4 separate regions of the Homo sapiens genome follow, and regions 1, 2 and 3 are each linked to region 4. The links are contacts of gene promoters, found by promoter capture Hi-C in blood cells and fetal thymus (Javierre and others, 2016). All regions are on one chromosome and are shown on one strand. Each heading gives the region's core, a stretch centred on a gene start or on the middle of the fragment in contact. The rest is flanking DNA. Distances are from core to core; before and after follow the strand shown.

Evidence for each region. Contacts are between HindIII fragments. The CHiCAGO score rates a contact against its expected background, and 5 or more counts as called.
Region 1: a fragment that was not itself captured here is called in contact with the fragment with the promoter of KAT8 in region 4 in 6 of 17 cell types (M0 macrophages, naive CD4 T cells, monocytes and 3 more); the score reaches 6.8 in M0 macrophages.
Region 2: a fragment that was not itself captured here is called in contact with the fragment with the promoter of KAT8 in region 4 in 3 of 17 cell types (naive CD8 T cells, monocytes and neutrophils); the score reaches 6.9 in naive CD8 T cells.
Region 3: a fragment that was not itself captured here is called in contact with the fragment with the promoter of KAT8 in region 4 in 1 of 17 cell types (monocytes); the score reaches 6.8 in monocytes.

Annotation. Positions count from the first base shown.
Region 1 is chr16:31,451,858-31,454,694 of GRCh38, reverse strand. No RefSeq gene overlaps it. Among named protein-coding and RNA genes, the nearest start is that of ARMC5, 6.2 kb to the left of the region's middle. RefSeq lists enhancers at 468-1,239, 1,240-2,012, 2,593-2,837. The HindIII fragment of the contact is 3,667 bases long and covers 1-2,837 here.
Region 2 is chr16:31,378,771-31,381,470 of GRCh38, reverse strand. It overlaps ITGAX (integrin subunit alpha X), which reads right to left. Exons shown (of 30, transcript NM_000887.5): 24 at 1,825-1,903; 25 at 1,607-1,714; 26 at 1,406-1,489; 27 at 1,092-1,205; 28 at 847-948; 29 at 464-574. Among named protein-coding and RNA genes, the nearest start is that of ITGAD, 13 kb to the left of the region's middle. The HindIII fragment of the contact is 6,995 bases long and covers 1-2,700 here.
Region 3 is chr16:31,401,470-31,404,169 of GRCh38, reverse strand. ITGAD (integrin subunit alpha D) reads right to left here. Exons shown (of 30, transcript NM_005353.3): 6 at 1,925-2,055; 7 at 525-670. Among named protein-coding and RNA genes, the nearest start is that of ITGAD, 9.5 kb to the right of the region's middle. The HindIII fragment of the contact is 7,259 bases long and covers 1-2,700 here.
Region 4 is chr16:31,116,303-31,119,002 of GRCh38, reverse strand. KAT8 (lysine acetyltransferase 8) reads right to left here and starts at 1,339. Exons shown (of 11, transcript NM_032188.3): 1 at 1,111-1,339. The coding sequence starts at 1,321. It also overlaps a transcript of BCKDK not described here. RefSeq lists an enhancer at 756-875 and silencers at 1,046-1,395, 1,295-1,521. The HindIII fragment of the contact is 10,033 bases long and covers 1-2,700 here.

The sequences.
Region 1 (2,837 bases), core at 147-2,646, 340 kb before region 4:
GAGACGGGGTCTCACTGTGTTGCCCAGGCTGGTCTTGAACTCCTGAGTTCAAGTGTTCCTCTGGTCTCAGCCTCCCAAAATGCTGGGATTACAGATGTGAGCCACCTAACCTGGTCTTTTTATTTTTTTAAAGAGCCAACATTTAAATAAGGAGATTTCACATCACAGTCGATTTCTGGGGCTTGGTTTGTTGTTGTTTTTTTTGTTTTTTTTTTTTTTTAATTGAGACAGGATCTTGCCAGGTTGCAGACTGGTCTTGAACTCCTAGGCTCAAATGATCCCCTCCTGGCCGGGCACGGTGGCTCACGCCTGTAATCCCAGCACTTTGGGAGGCCTAGGTGGGCGGATCACGAGGTCAGGAGATCGAGACCTTCCTGGCTAACAAGGTGAAATCCTGTCTCTACTAAAAATACAAAAAATTAGCTGGAAATGGTGGCAGGCGCCTATAGTTCCAGCTACTCAAGAGGCTGAGGCAAGAGAATGGCATGAACCCAGGAGGCAGAGCTTGCAGTGGGCGGAGATCCTGTCACTGCAATCCAGCCTGGGTGACAGAGCAAGACTCCGTTTCAAAAAAAAAAAGAAAAGATCCCCTGCCCCGGCCCTTCCCTCCCCCACCCACCTCGGCTTCCGAAAGTGGTAGGATTACAGGCGTCAGTCACCACACCCGGCCTGCTTTATTATTTATATCAGAAGATGCTGCAACATTGGATTTTTATGGCAGCAGTTCGTTGAGTAGTGGCTGTCCTGGACATAGGAACAGGGACACTCCCTCTTGCATCCCTGACTCAGCACGTTTCATATGTGTTACTTGCCTGTCCCCTGCAGAAAAGTACTTGAGGTTACAGTCTCCATCCCACCCCACTGTGGGTGAGAAGGACCTTTCCATGCAGTGAAGGCACTTTTCCCCTTTCCTTCACCCCTTCCTGTTCCCTTCTCTGCCGTTTTCCTTCTTCTCCCCCAGAACTCCTCTGTGAAATACCTGGCCTCCTTCCCTGAGCCTCCCTGTCTCCCTGCCACCCCATCTCCACTCCGTGCTATGACATCACCCCGTAATTTGAAGCTCCTTTCCCTATCTGAAGGGAGGCAGAGACAGAGTGCACAGGCTCAACTAGGCAAGGCAGACCCTTGCATGCCTGGGTCAGAGGTCAGGGTCTCTGGCACACATTCCTCCCAGAGCAACTGTAGGAAGCAAGCCAGTACAGAGGTACTCTAAGCGCTAGACAGGACGGGGTGGGAGTCGGTAACATCGTCTCCTCTGGGCTGGCCCTGCTTCTGCTTAGCTCTGGGCATAAGACTGACTCCAGTACAGTCACAGTTATGTCTCTGAGCTCACCCAGTCCTGGGTTCCAGGTTCCCAGCTCTGAGCCTGGCGAGACACACACAGGCTGGTGCTGTGGGATGTCTTGGTACGGTGGCTCACGCCTGTATTCCCAGCGCTTTGGGAGGCCGAGGTGGGCAGATCACCTGAGGTCAGGAGTTCGAGACCAGGCTGCCCAACGTGGTGAAACCCTGTCTCTACCAAAAATATAAAAATTAGCCAGGCATGGTGGCACGTGCCTGTAATCCCAGCTACTTGGGAGGTTGAGGCAGGAAAATTGCTTGAACCCAGGAGGTGGAGGTTTCAGTGAGCCAAGATCGTGCCACTGCACCCCAGTTTGGATGAAAGAGTGAGACTCCGTTTCAAAAAAAAAACAAAAAAAACAAAACCAAAAAATAAAAAAACACATCAGCTTGACATTTTGGAGGCATTCCCAGACTCAGGGTTAGTCAGCAGATTAGCATTTAAAAGAAAGTCTTGTCCCTACAGATTCCCTGACCTCAGCTACCCATGAAGGGTGGGAAGAGGAGTCCTTAGCAAGAAGTCCAGGAAGTTGACAACCTCCTCAGACCTGATAGGACACTCCTCTCTCCACCCTGCCTCCTGACTGATTTAATCTCAGGGGTGTGAGGACCTCTGAGATAGGCCCCAGGAGTCTCACCCGCACCACTTATGTCTCAGGGCTAACCAGAGACTCCCTGAAACAGATCCTAGAGGATTCCCAAGTGATAGGATAAATAGAGAGGTACTGAGACTTCCTGGCGTGGGTGACCTCTCCCAGGCTGGCCAACCTCCCCCATTCAGAAATTTGCTGAGCACCAGGAGTGAATGAAGTAAAGGAAGCCCCTAGGAGTTCAAGAAGCAGAGATTTCCAGGTCCATGCACCAAAGCTCATGTGCTCAATTCTCAGGAAAGGCCTCACTCAGTTAAAAAATTTTGTATCATGAAAGGGTAAATGAATTAATTAGTGAATCTGGTTTCTAAGCCAATGGCTTACTAGAAATATTATAGTAAATCAGAAAAAAAAAAAAAGGCGGTGGCTCACACCTATAATCCCAGCACTTTGAGAGGCTGAGGTGAGAGGATGCTTTGAGCCCAGGAGTTCGAGACTAGCCTGGGCAACATAGCAAACCCCATCTCTAGAAAAAATTAAAAAACCAGCCAGGTGTGGTGATGTTCACTGTAGTCCCAGCTATTCAGGAGGCTGAGGCAGGAGGACCGCTTGAGCCCAGGAATTTGAGACTGCAGTGAGCTAGGATTGTGCCACTGCACCCCAGCCTGGGCAACAGAGTGAGACCCTGTCTCTAAAAAAATAATTTTTTTTAAAGATAATTCTTCAAAGGAGATCCGCTCTTCCTTTCCTACACCCATTCCCTTTCCTCCCTTTCCTGAACAATGCTGTCTTACAGCCTCTAGGGGCAGGCAGAGCCAAAGAGGCCTCTGCCGGGTGTGGGGAGTGAGACGCAGCAGGCCAGAGCATGTATCAGAGCTCCAGCAGGTGGGGGAGGGTGTCCACACG
Region 2 (2,700 bases), core at 51-2,550, 260 kb before region 4:
CCACCTGCCTCGATCTCCCAAACTGCTGGGATTACAGCCATGAGCCACCGTGCCCAGCCTAGATTTAGCCAAAATTCTATGAGCTGGGGTAGAATCACCTTCACATTGAGAAATCAAGGCCCAGAGTGGAGCAGACACTGGCCTATGGTCAAAGACAAAAAGAACCCGTGGTGATGTCGACATTCAAACCCAGGTCTGTGCTTTTATATGATAATCTGCTGTCAAGGGAAACACGTAGAATGATGGAGAAGAGCAGGAAAGAAAGGGAGAAATATTAGAGGAAGCCTGGGAATCACAAAGCAGGGGGCCACTGGGGACAGGTGACATTGCAGGTGGGAAGCAGTTTCTCATATGAAGTGACCCAGTAAGAATGTGCCTCTGCCTTCAAAGTGAGCTCCTTCTCACTCTGCAAAAAGAGCGGGACCAGATGCTGGTGGTGTCAAGAGTGGCATAAAACACTCACTTTGTACAGTACCGCTGTGATGAGTGCCAGCAGCAACAGACCCCCAATGGAGCTGCCTACGATGAGGGGGGTGGGGTTGTGGACCTTGTACTTCTCCAGCACCGTTGTCGTCTGAAGTGGAAGTGACCCTGTCAGAGCACTCCCATCCTCCTACTATCCCAGACTCCTCCCAGGCTCCCCAACCTTTAACTCCCTCCCCTCCTTCCCCAGGCCCTGCTCCAAGAGGTGAGACACAGCAGCACCCGTGCCCTTAGGGACAGCTATCCTGCCCAGAGGCCTTCGCCCTCCTCCCCCAAGGCTTGCAAACCCCCCACCCAGCACCACAGATGTAGCCCTAGGGGCCCTCTTTCCAGCCTGGTCGCTGCCCTCCACATGGTCTCTACCTGAGCTCTCATAAATGCCTCCTGTCCTGGAAGCTGGGAGTACACGGATGTGTCGAACGTAATTTCAGCCACACTCACGACCGACACCTTCTTCTGCAATATCTGCAAAGGGGTTGGGGGAAACCTGTTGAACTGGCTCTGGGGGAGGCTCAGAGCTCTGGGGGTGCCCTGGCTTGCAGATGGGCACAGACATGCCAGGTCCCGCCTGAGTCTGGGGCAGGGGCTCTGTCGTTGCACCCACACACCTGGCGGACCCAGCCAAAGCTGAGGTTGCCCTTCAGGGTGAAATCCAGCTCCTCCTGGACGCTGAAGGAGGGGACGTCACAGCGGAACCGCAGGCAGCCAGCAATGGAGCAGTCCTGGGGGCAGATAAATAGCATGGGGCTGAGAAAGATGAGTGTGAAGGTGGGAGGCAGCATTATGCGGTGTGACTTGAGGGCAGCGGCCATATCCGAATGCAAGAGGGTACTTCAGCAGGATGGATATGGAACATGAACTCCTGGGTTAAATTCCTCTGATGTGGGGCCTACAGTGAGGGCCAGCCCAGAGCCCTCCTCACCAGCACGGGATTCTTCTGAATGTGCGCCAGGAAGTCAGATGCTGGGGGTGCGATTTTCTCTGAGGAGCACCGAAGGGATGGGTTCTGGGGGAAAATGCAGAGAACAAGTGTCTCAGCTGGGACATCAGGGACCCACATGGGGCACAAGGAATCCAGGTAGAAAGGGCATTCGTGGAGGAGCCACATGCAGTCCTTGGGTACCTGGGGGTGGGAGACCTCCACATCCATCCACACAGCCTCCTGGTTCAGCTCCACAGGCACCCAGAAGTTGATGCTGACAGGCAGGTCCCTCTGTCCCAGGTTATTGACCTGCACAGAGGGCACTGAGGGCAGAGCCCACGCCAAAGCCCAAATCCCTCCCCAGTCTCCGGCTCCCAGCCTCCCACCCCAGCCCAGTCTCCTGCGTCTCCACCACCTGCCTGGTATCTGTGCATGGCCACATGGCTTTCCTTCTCCTCAGACTCTGAGAAGTTGAGGTATTTGGTGAATTGTTCGTGGCTGGAGAGAGAAGACGCATAAGTGGATGTGAACTACCATGGGGCATCTGCAGAAGGCATTGGCTAGAGCATGAGAGGACAGGTGGTCGGTGGGGCCTTGGAATGTCCTGGAATGAGGGCTGTGGCTGAGTTAGGTTATAAGAGAGTTTAGAGGCCAGGCGCGGTGGCTCAGGCCTGTAATCCCAGCACTTTGAGATGCTGAGATGGGCGGATCACCTGAGATCAGGAGTTCGAGATCACCCTGGCCAACATGGTGAAACCCTGTCTCTACTAAAAATACAAAAATTAGCCAGGCATGATGGTGTGCACCTGTAATCCCAGCTACTCAGGAGGCTGAGACAGGAGAATTGTTTGAGCCCAGGGGACAGAGGTTGCAGTGAGCCCAGATCACGCCACTGAATGACAGAGCAAGACTCTCTCTCTCTCAAAAAAAAACAGAGAGAGAGAGTTTAGAGACCAGGCACAGTGCTCACGCCTATAATCCCAGCACTTTGACAGGCTGAGACAGGCAGATCACCTGAGGTCGGGAGTTCAAGACCAGCCTGGCCAACATGGAGAAACACCATCTCTACTAAAAATACAAAAATTAGCCAGGTGTGGTGGCAGGTGCCTGTAATCCCAGCTACTTGGGAGGCTGAGGCACGAGAATTGCTTGGAGCCAGGAGGCGGAGGTTGCAGTGAGCAGAGATGGTACAACTGCACTCCAGCCTGGGCAACACAGTGAGACTTGGTCTCAAAAAAAAAAAAAAAGAGAGAGAGTCTAGAAAAGCAGGGCTGGGCTTCAAACAAGTGCTAATT
Region 3 (2,700 bases), core at 106-2,605, 290 kb before region 4:
CCTTGGGTGACAATTCCTGAGTCCCTGACTACTCCATTCTCTGATAAAACCTCAGGCATTTATCCGACACCTCCTACGTGCCCCGGGCTGAGCACCCCACACACATGATCTCAATCCTAAGCTGTGAGCTTATCTTCATCTGAGAGTTACTGAGACTTAGAGCCCATCACCCCAGGGTTACACCCAGAGTAGCTCACGGGGAGCCAGGATGGGAGCCTGATGTGTCTGAGCCAAAGCCCGGGCCTCTGGCTGCTGTGGGGTGGGGAGGGGTCCTGGGGTCCAGGCTCTGCAGAACCAGGCAAAGGGGAGGCATAGCTGCAGAGGAGCCTAGTCCTATATCAGGGAGACTGGCAGCGAGGCAACCAGGAGCACCCCGGGGGGAGGTTCTCCCTGCAGCCCCGACATGCCCCTTGGTAGCCCCTTTCCCTGGAGCCTCCCTCAGCCTCTGAGAAGAGCTGTGCTGACCCAGGGTTAGGAAGTGGGGGTGGCAGTCACATCGCCAGGCTGGGGTCGGGGTTGCTTACACCACTGTCAGGATGCCCGTGGCCGTGAACGTCAGGCCTTTCAGTTGGACGATGGGATCCACCAGGCTCTGCTGGCTCGGGCTGGTCCGGAATTGGGTGAAGGTGAAGTGGATCTTCAGGAGGTTTGAGTACTGCATCAGTGCAAACTGCAAAGGCCAGTGGGGAGGGCCCAGGGCTCAGTGCCTGTTACTATTGTTTTTATTTTAATTTTTTGTAGAGACAGGGTCTCTCAAACTCCTGGCCTCAAGTGATCCTCCTGCCTCAGCCTCCAAGTAGCTGGAACTACAGGCACACGTCACATGCCTGGCTTTGTTTTTTGTTTTGTTTTGTTTTTGGTAGAGACAAGGTCTCACTATGTTGCCCAGGCTGGTCTCGAACTCTTGGCCTCAAGCAATACTCCCACCTCAGCCTCCCAAAGTGCTGGGATTACAGGTGTGAGCCACCACACCAAGCCATATTGTTTTCAGTTTTAATAAACTTTATTTTGGAATTATTTTGGATTTACAAACCATTTCCCATGTGTTTTGAAGCCCTACAAATAATATACTGAAACCCAGAGAAGAAAATTCATTGGCCCAAAAATACAAAATATAAACTGGAAAATCTAAACCAAATGATATTTCCTTCACAGTTTATTAAAAATAACTTTGCCAACCACAATATTTGCTACCCTTAGCTTTTTAAAAATTTTATCACACATTAAATCAATTTGTGTATTTCCTCCCTTCTCAAGAATTTGTGGCTGGGCGTAGTGACTCATGCCTGTAATCCCAGCACTTTGAGAGGCCAAGGTGGGAGGGTTGTTTGAGCCAGGAGTTGGAGACCAGGTTGGGCAATATAACAAGACCCCATCTCTACAATAAAAATTTTTAAAAATTAGCCAGGCATGGTGGCATGCACCTGTAGTCCCATCTACTCAGGAGGCTGAGGAAAGAGGATCACTTGAGCCTGGGAGATCAAGTCTGCAGTGAGCTATGATTGCACCCCCACACTGCAGCCTGGATGACAGAACAAGACCCTGTTTAAAAAACAAAACAGTGGGGTTTTTTTGCACATACATAGGCACTAGTTATGGGAAAATAAAATAATAAAAAGAAATCATTAGTTACATAGAAAATATGTCAGTCAAATTCCATAGCAAAATTATTTTTTAAACACTTTCAATGTTTTTAAACAGCAGAAACATTGTATTTCCTGTAGCTTTTGGATACATTATTAAATGCCAAGAGGGCCTCCTAGGTCAGGGCTCAAGTTGGGCCTGTGCTGGGACCATAGCTTCATTCTCCACCCCAGCCCCATCACACACGGCTCACTGGCCTGCCCCCACCCCTCCCGGGATGCCTCCCCGAGGCCAGCCTCCCCCGTCCCCCAAACCCCAGCCCCAGGTGCCCAGTCTTCACCAGGGTGTCAGTGCCCTCAAACTGGCCCATGACAGCTTGGACAAAGCCCTTCATCTGGTTAAAGTCATTTTGGTCAATGCTTCCAGAGCCGTCAATCAGGAAGACGATGTCCATCTCTTGATGTGGACACTCTGTGGGGGAATGGGGAGGAATCGGAGATGCACTGCGGGGGCCCAACCCCCTCCTGCAGCTCCTGCTCAACAGAGCCCGGGGGCTGTTCTTGGCATCCCCACCTAGTTTCCGACCCCTCCTTGGAGGAGGCCCCAGTCTGCCACCCCAGCCCCCTGCTCCCTTCCTCCCACATGGCCTGGAAAGAGAGGGATGACAACACAGGACCCAGGTGGGCTCCTCATCCATTTAATCAACAAATATTCATTAAACACAGATGCTAGGGGTGCCACAAGCATCAAGGGCGAATGTTTAGCAAAGTGGTTCAGGGCGCGTGTTCTGGAGCCAGTGTGCCTGGGCTAAACCCCAGCTCAGCCACGTGCTAATTGGTGAATTCAGGCACATTACTTAACTTCTCTGGACTTCAGTGTCCCTATCTGTAAAATGAAGGTAATATCAGTGGCTACCACGTGGGATCACTGCAAGGATAAAGCAACACGCACATGGGTGCTGGAGACAAGTCCTGGCCCTCTGCCAGGGTCAGCCGCTGGCACCATTCTCACCACGTGCCAGGCACCTTCGAGGCCTGTAGGATATGCCTGTAGGGATGCTGTGGGGGTGGGGCAGGGATCCACCCCAGACCCCACCCTACCCCCAGTCGGTCAGAG
Region 4 (2,700 bases), core at 90-2,589:
GTGAGGTGGGAGGATCACTTGAGCCTAGAAGGTCTAGGCTTCAGTGAGCTGTCATCGTGCCACGGCAATCCCACCTGGGTGACAGAGCGAGATCCTGTCTCAAAAAAAAAAAAAAAAAAAAAGACAAAAGGGATAATAGTACCAACCTTAGAAGGTGAATTAATGCCTCCAAAATTTTTAGCAGCGCACCTGACAATTAGCAGAGCATTCAATAAATGAGTAAGGCAACCACTACGTGTCTGGCCCTATGCTGTGTTGTTGCCGGGTACAGAGGACACAGTGATGAATCACAAGAAGTGCTGCCCTCCAGAAGTTCCCAGTATGATGGAGGAAGACAGAGAGAGAAAATTACAACATAATGTTACAAAAACTATGACTGAGGTAGGAAAAAAATGTTGCAGGAACATAGAGAAGGGAACCACTCACTTTGCCTGAAGGGGAATCAAGGATGACATCACAAAGGATATGAAGCTAAGAGGATGAGTAGGAGCTAGGCAGGCAAACAAGGAGAAAGGGAAGAAAAAGCATTCCAAGCAAAGGGCACAGGTGGTAAAGGGCGTGTGGTCTTCAGAGGGCACAGTGTGTTCTGGCCTGGCAATGCCCTTTCCTAGTGTTGGCTAGAAACTGGAGAGGTCACAAAAATGAATGCCACCCTAAGGAGTTTGGGGTTAATTTTGAAAATGAGAGAAGGCAGCAGAACTTTAGGAAAGGGAAGCCTGTTGTTTCTGGAAGGTCTTCTCTCTGCGGATGGCTGCCAGGGACAAATGGAAAAAGAAGACGCAGAGACAAGAGAGGGTGAGGAAGCAGCGTTAGCAAGAAAAAGGAATGAAGCCTAAGACTGGGCAAGGAAGTGGAATGGGAACAATCCTGGTGAAGGCCTGAGCGGTGGGTTTGTAGGCGTCGCTCGGCATAATTCAAGGTCAACAGCCTCCCACAACCCGGCTGGTTTCTCAGCGCCCGGAACGCGGCGTTCTTTCCTCAAGCCCCGCCCCTCCTCCTCTCCACTCCCAGCCCCCGGATCTTGGCCTCACTGACAGCCTGTCCTCAGGCCCCGCCCCACCCCCTGGCCCTGAGCTCCGCCCCGCCCCCAGCCCTGGGCCCCGCCCTCACGCCAGGTGCTATCCGGTCGCCGGCACAGGTACGTTTCTCCGATCTCCACCGTGACTTCCGGCTCGCCGCGCGCCGGGGTCGGCGGAGAGACGCGGCCCGGGGATGGGGCGGTCCCCTCAGCGGCCGCATTCTCCCCGGGCCCGGGCTCGCCCTCCCCCGCGACCCCTGAAGTCCCCGCCGCAACCGCCGCAGCAGCTCCCTGTGCCGCCATCGCGGGAAGGGAAGTGACGCCAGAATCGGACGCCACGCAGTTCTTTTGGCTCCGGGTCAGCAGTGCGTGGGGCGGGCTCCTCAAGGTTTGAGGGCGGGGTCTGTGATGTAGCAGGAGCCGATTGGCTTCTGTGGCCGTCCCCGCGGCCCCGCGAGTTGGATGTTGAGTGTGCGGCAGTCTTGGAGCTCCTGGTTTTCCGTGCGGACCTGTGGCTGCAGCCTATGGGTGAGGAGAGGAGACAGACTTACCTCATGCGATGACTCAACTCAACCTTTTTTTAATTTATTTATTTATTTATTTATTTATTTATTTTGAGACGGAATCATGCTCTGTCGCCCAGGCTGGAGTGCAGAGGCGCGATCTCGGCTCACTGCAACCTCCGCCTCCGGGTTCAAGCGATTCCTCTGCCTCAGCCTCCCGGGTAGCTGGGACTGCAGGCGCGCGCCACCACGCCCATCTAATTTTTGTATTTTTAGTAGAGACGGGGTTTCACCATGTTGTCCAGGATAGTCTTGATCTCTTGACCTCGTGATCTGCCAGCCTCAACCTCCCAAAGTGCTGGGATTATAGGCGTGAGCCACCGTGCCCGGCCAGCTGAACCTTTTTAAAGGCCCTGGTACCTGCGGAAGCCAAGATGTGCCAATTTTCAGCGGGCGCTGCCCCCACTTTAACAGGGCAGAGCCAGAGCGGCCGCCCTGGTGGCCTGGAGCCGCACACTCGCGCTGGCCTAATGTCGCTCCCCGCCCCCCCCCCTTTTTTTTTTTTGAGATGGAGTCTCGCTCTGTCGCCCAGGCTGGAGTGCAGTGACGCGATCTCGGCTCACTGCAGCCTCCGCCTCCCGGGTTCAAGCGATTCTCCTGCCTCAGCCTCCTGAATAGCTGGGATTACAATCGCGCGCCACCACGCCCGGCTATTTTTTGTATTTTTAGTAGAGAGAGGGCTTCACCCTGTTGGCCAGGCTGGTCTCGAACTCCTGACCTCAGGTGATCCGCCCGCCTCGGCCTCCCAAAGTGCTAGGGTTACAGGCGTGAGCCACCGTGCCCAGCCAGTGCCCCATTTTTGAAGGTTGAAGAGACTACTTCCCCTATTTGGGATACAGTTGGTGCGGGGAAAGCAGAACGGGTGTGTCCAGGGACAGGCCATAATTCACCCTCACAGGATAAAGTCTAAAGAAAGGACGAGTTGGGCGGGGCGTGGTGGCTCACGCCTGTAATCTCAGCACTTTGAGAGGCCGAGGCGGGCGGAGATCGAGACCATCCTGGCTAACACCGTGAAACTCCGTCTCTACTAAAAATACAAAATTTAGCCGGGCGTGGTGGCACGCACCTGTAGTCCCAGCTACTCGGGAGGCTGAGGCAGGAGAATCGCTTGAACCCGGG